Regions from separate parts of the Homo sapiens genome. Here region 1 is linked to region 2. The links are contacts of gene promoters, found by promoter capture Hi-C in human tissues and cell types (Jung and others, 2019). All regions are on one chromosome and are shown on one strand. The core of a region is centred on a gene start or on the middle of the fragment in contact, and the rest is flanking DNA. Distances in the headings are between cores, read along the strand shown.

What was found. The method cuts DNA at HindIII sites, captures the fragments that hold promoters and counts their contacts. A contact is called where the count stands out against the background at its distance.
Region 1: a contact is called between a fragment that was not itself captured here and the fragment with the promoter of ICMT in region 2, in 1 of the 25 tissues and cell types used here (mesendoderm cells).

Annotation. Positions count from the first base shown.
Region 1 is chr1:7,296,648-7,299,347 of GRCh38, forward strand. All of the region lies in intron 5 of CAMTA1 (calmodulin binding transcription activator 1), which reads left to right. Among named protein-coding and RNA genes, the nearest start is that of CAMTA1-IT1, 66 kb to the right of the region's middle. The HindIII fragment of the contact is 6,022 bases long and covers 1-2,700 here.
Region 2 is chr1:6,234,629-6,237,328 of GRCh38, forward strand. ICMT (isoprenylcysteine carboxyl methyltransferase) reads right to left here and starts at 1,336. Exons shown (of 5, transcript NM_012405.4): 1 at 1,089-1,336; 2 at 258-346. The coding sequence starts at 1,283. ICMT-DT (ICMT divergent transcript) reads left to right here and starts at 1,612. Exons shown (of 5, transcript NR_103534.1): 1 at 1,612-1,708; 2 at 2,338-2,522; 3 at 2,617-2,700. RefSeq lists silencers at 1,005-1,064, 1,275-1,604 and an enhancer at 1,569-2,541. The HindIII fragment of the contact is 11,307 bases long and covers 1-2,700 here.

The DNA.
Region 1 (2,700 bases), core at 163-2,662, 1.1 Mb after region 2:
TAGTGGAGCAGGTCTAGGGGGAGAATAAAGAGTTCTGTTTTGGCCACGTCAAGGGTGATGTTCAGATGTAGATGTCAAGTGGCCCATTGAATACATATGTCTGGAGCTCAGGGGAGCAGTCAGACCAGAGATACAGACTTTTGTAGTCATTAATCACGGATGACCACCGAGAGAAAGAGTATAAAGGAGAGAAAATGACTAAAGACTTAGACCCCTGACACCTAAAACATTTAGCTGCCTGGACAAAAAGGGAGAGCCAGCAAAGGAAATGGAGACACAGGGGGCAAGAAAACCAGGAAAGCATGGTGACCTGGAAGCCAGGTGAAGAGGGGCTTCCAAGAAGGAGGAAATGGTTAGCTGTGCCAAATGCTTGGTGAGAGGGGATGGAGGACCAAATGGAAAAAGAAAGCTACAAAACTGTATTTTCAGAAATGTCCTAATTTTGCAAAAATAATTTCTCCCTGCCCAAAAAGAGTAAAAAGCTCTTTGAGTTTGTTAAATCTGTAGTCCAATTTTAATCCATGAACATGGTATATCTCTATTCTAGATATTTTAGAAGATATGTGGTAGGGGAGTGTGGGTTATGTTGTTTTCTATAAAAGGTGTTGAATTTTGTTCTGGCAGGTCAGTTAATTACTGGCAGATCCTCTTGGTCTGGTCAGGCTTGGTTTGAATCTTTATTAGAGTTGGTCCATTTTTATTTTGCCCTTATTCCTAGGCTTTGGCCTTTCCTGTAGGGTATAGTCCTTGTTCCTAAGGCCTGGCCTTTTGGGGAACAAATGCCCAAGGTACTCAGCAAGGGTTCTCTCGTCTGGCTTGGCCAGAATTCAAAGCTCTGCCAGCTCTGCATGACTTCTAGTATCTCTGCTTAGCTTTCAGTCTTATAACAGCTATGGAGTTTTGCCCTGCATGTGGGCAGTTCTGCCCTCAACCAAGTACTCACAGGGTACCTCCAGGCAGACTTCTAGGGCCTACTTTCTGCACAAGATTCTTCTCTCCAGAGCCCAGACCTGTAAGTTCTAGCTGCTTTAGCAGCCCCAAACTCTTGATTTTTGCCTTCTCCTATAATCTAGGCTGCTGTGCCCCATCGTCCTGCATAATGGGCCAAAAGGCTGGGCAAACATGGGGCTTATCTTGTGTGTTTTTTTTCTGGCAGAACCACAGTCCTGAACTGCCTGTTGTACAATCCCTACAAAGAGTAGCCTCAGATATTTTTGTCTAGTTTCATGATTGTTTACAGCAGGAGGGCAAATCCAATCCTAGTCACTTCATTGTGGCAGGAATCAATATCTATTTGGTTTAATGTTTACCATTCCTTCCCATTCCCTATACCAGCTCATCACCCTTGTCAGCGGCAGTTCTATATATGTTTGTAGTCCTTTCAGTTGAAATAAAATTGAGTCAAACAATTTATAATCTGAAATGAACAAAGACCATGTAAATTCTTTTCAGTTGCCTTTTTAGGCTGGTATCTGTCTGTAGAGGACTCCCAGGGAAGGATTCTCAAGGAAGACTCAATGGGAAGCCTTTGGATGGCAAGCTACAGGGCTGAGTACGAGGGTGGCCTTCCTGTGCGGGGTGTAGGATTAGCATCAGAGAAACAAATCAGGAATCCCTGGGTATAACAGTAGGGGCTGCATTGTCATTTTAGCCTTCTCCAGAGATGCATGATCCACCCCCCACCCCGCAGGTCTTTTCCTCTCTATGAAAGTCACTGACAAGTTCCTGTGGATCCCCTGGGGTCCCCAGGAATGTATTTCTACTCTGAGGGCCAGTGAGTATCTTTTTCTTGGCCATGAGCCATGAATAGAAACGGGACCCTTAATACTGCCTGACCTGCCACATGCAGCCCTCTCTTCTGGGACTGTCTACACAAGTACATTTCCACCATCTACAGGGGCGGAATTCCGGTCATTTGCTACAGGGGAAATTCTAGATTTTTGTTTCTAAAGGGCCCCAGGTTACCAAGGTCTCTTGTATATTAGAATTTTACCACTTCTCTCTGGGGGAATTAGGTATTTATCAATACATTTTGTAATATATATTTACCAAATTGTTTATCCAGCAAACTTTTATTAAGCAAATGCCAGGCATTGTGTTAGGTTCTGAAGCTCTCCCAGTTCCTTATCCAGGGCCCCAGGAACGCACTCAGGGACCATTTCAGACACGTGGGTGAGTCAGTCCCTAATGGGCTCAGAAGAGAATCACCAAAATGTTTAAGACAGAACAGTCCCGAGCAGCCAACATTTCACCCTTCCTTCCTCTCTCTTCCCTTGCCGACCAGACCCAAGGGTTTTGGACTCAACTGTTTCCTTTTGTAGCAATGAGCTAAGGAGGCTATTTGCTTTGACTAAGGGGCCAAGATGATGAAGTCAGATGTCCTGAGTTTGCATCTTGCCTCTCCACTGACTTGCTGTGTGACCTTAAGCAAGTACCTTCCCCTCTCTAGGTCTGCTTCCTGAAAATTCAAAGTCTCTGAAAATTCTGTTTTAAAATATGTGCTGGAGGTGGGGAGACCTGATTCCCTGCCTAGTGCTTCCTTCGTTTTCATGGATTCTTTATTAAGCAGATATTACTTCTTCATAATAAAATCGTATATGAAACAATGACTTGATTTCTTTATATGAAACATACTTTGTACATCTAAAAATGTTGTTGAAATCATCTGAGCCTCTGAGCAAGAGCTTCGCCTTTGACTCT
Region 2 (2,700 bases), core at 86-2,585:
ACCACAGCTGCGGATGACAGCACCTTTGGGGGTGCCAGGGAGATCTGTTTCTGCCTGATTCACAATCAACCCACAGGCACGAAATCACAAGGGCTGAAATGTGAGCAACTAGGGGGAAGCCAGGAGACTTCGTTTCCAGAGAACCCTGAACAGCCTTCTGCCGGTCACAGATGAGACAGGGATGAGGAAATGCCGCTACAGACCCTCTGATCTGTCCACCCTCGCCTGAAAACCAGTATTTCCGAAGGAATTCTTACCAGCCAAAGTGACTCCAAGAAGACTGGCTAAAACTTAGCAGCGTGCCGCAGCCGAACACAAACCCCAGGAAACAAGCTCGGATGGCTATCTGAAAGGAACCCAAGAGAAGCTCAGTCATTCACAGTCCTCAGAGTACAGATCTGGGCTGCTGACCTTCCCGGAATAGGCAACCCACAGGCAAGCAGATAGAGCCGATTTGCTGAGGTTGAAAGGGAGAAGTGGGCGACCTGGGTTCAAATTCTGCACCCACCGCTCTCTGGCTGTGTGGCCTCCCAAATTATTTAACCTCTCTGAGCTTGCTTCCCCATCTACAGCCAGGGGATAACAGTACCTACCTTTTAGGACTGCAGTAAGGATTACCCACGTAAAACACTTAAGACTAACTGCTACCTACATTTTAGCTGTCATTATTATTATTATTCGTGATTACTATTCAGGGCTGTAGGAAAACTGCTTAAGCCTAGTTTATGAGGTCAGGGCACCCGGGCCTGTGCGCCCAGCCCCACCCACGTCACTGCGGGGCCTTTGACCTGAGACAGGGCAGCAGGTAGGTCTCTGCACCTTAAGTTACATAAAAGCACTCGCGGGCTCGCTCACTCCACCCCACGCGCACCTGCTGAGCTGCACAAGCTGCAATTTAACAACCCACTCCTCGGGTGCAGGGCGCCCGAGCCCGGAGAGAGAGGGTCCCCTCCTGCGACCTGAACTCGCGGATGAAGAGCGCGCGCGTGGGAGGCCACTGCGGGCCCGGGGAGAAAGGTGCCCACGCGCCGCGCCAAGCGGACCGCCGCCCGCCCCGCCGGCCCCCGCCGGCCCCCGCCGGCCTGCACCTGGTAGCGAGGCGGCCGATAGAGCAGCAGCAGCAGCGCGTTGAGCCCGGCCACGTAGAGCGCCAGCCCGGTGCGGCCCTGCAGGCCGGCGCGCGTGAGCAGCGGCAGCGCGAGCACCGAGGCGCCCAGCAGGAAGGTGGCGAGGCTGAGACGCGCCTCAGAGCCCGGCGGAGCCCGCGCCGCGCAGCCCGCCATGGCGCCGGGCGGCGGACTAGCGGGCGGCGGCGCCGGCTGTAGCCCGGAGAAACGCGCCGGCTGCGCCTGCGCACTGTGCCGCCGATGCCGGCCCGGGAAGGGCAGCTGCCCGCAGCTGCGCGCCGCCTGCCAGTTCTCGCGAGAACTCCGGCCCGCCCTGTTGCTGTCCGGAATTTGGCGGGAGCGCCCCGCCCGCCCGCCCCTCCCCGCCCCTCGGGGACATCCGGGCTCTGAGCCAGACTCTGTGCCGGGCGGGGGCCGGGAAGTGGTGGGAGAAGTCGCCGCCCGCGTCTGTCCAAACTTAGTCCCAAACTCAGGAGGTTCCTGTCCCAAGAAGCAATGTAAAGTTTGAAACGAGCCGAGCGCGGTGGCTCACGCCTGTAATCCCAGCACTTTGGGAGGCCGAGGCTGGCGAATCATTTGAGGTCAGGAGTTCGAGACCAACCTGGGCAACATGGGGAAACGCCGTCTATACTAAAAATACAAAAATTAGCTGGGCGTGGTGGCGCACGCCTTTAACCCCAGCTACTTGGTGAGGCTGAGGCAGGAGAATCGCTTGATCCGGGGAGACGGAGGTTGCAGTGAGCCGAGATTGTGTCACTGCACTCCAGCCTGGGTGACAGAGTGACACTCCATCTCAAAAAAAAAAATTTTGAAACGGCCGCACCCTCGCCGGCCCTGCGTCGTCCCCGAAAACCAGACGCCCTGGGGCGCGGGGCCAAGTGCGGCGACCTCCTGCCCTCCCTCTGCGGCTCCCTGGAAACCGGCCTGGACAACGGCACCTGGGCATCCATGCAACGGGACCACCGCCCGCTTAAATTCCTGTTGTGGAACAAGGCTGGACGGTGATGGGAATGCTCAGGATATGTTAGGTTTTCTTTTTTTTTTGAGACGGAGTCTCGCTCTGTCGCCCAGGCTGGAGTGCAGTGGTGCGATCTCGGCTCACTGCAAGCTCCGCCTCCCGGGTTCACGCCATTCTCCTGTCTCAGCCTCCCGAGTAGCTGGGACTACAGGCGCCCGCCACTGCGCCCGTCTTATTTTTTTGTATTTTTAGTAGAGACGGGGTTTCACCGTGTTAGCCGGGATCCATCTCCTGACTTCGTGATCCGCCCGCTTCGGCCTCCCAAAGTGCTGAGATTACAGACGTGAGCCACCGCGCCCTGCCTATATTAGGTTTTTAAATAGCAGGAGGCAAAGCTTTTCGGTGTGATCCTGACTTCACTTGGGGAAAAAGGGCAGGTATCTGAGCCTGGGAAAATGATCAAGCTATCAGCCAAAATGGTATAACGCCGACTATATATGTACCTTTTTTTTTTCTTTTTTTCTTTTTTAGACACAGGGTCTCACTGTGTTGGCCAGGCTGGAGTGCGGCAGTCTGGAACTCCTGGGCCCAAGTGATCCTCCAATCAGCCTCACA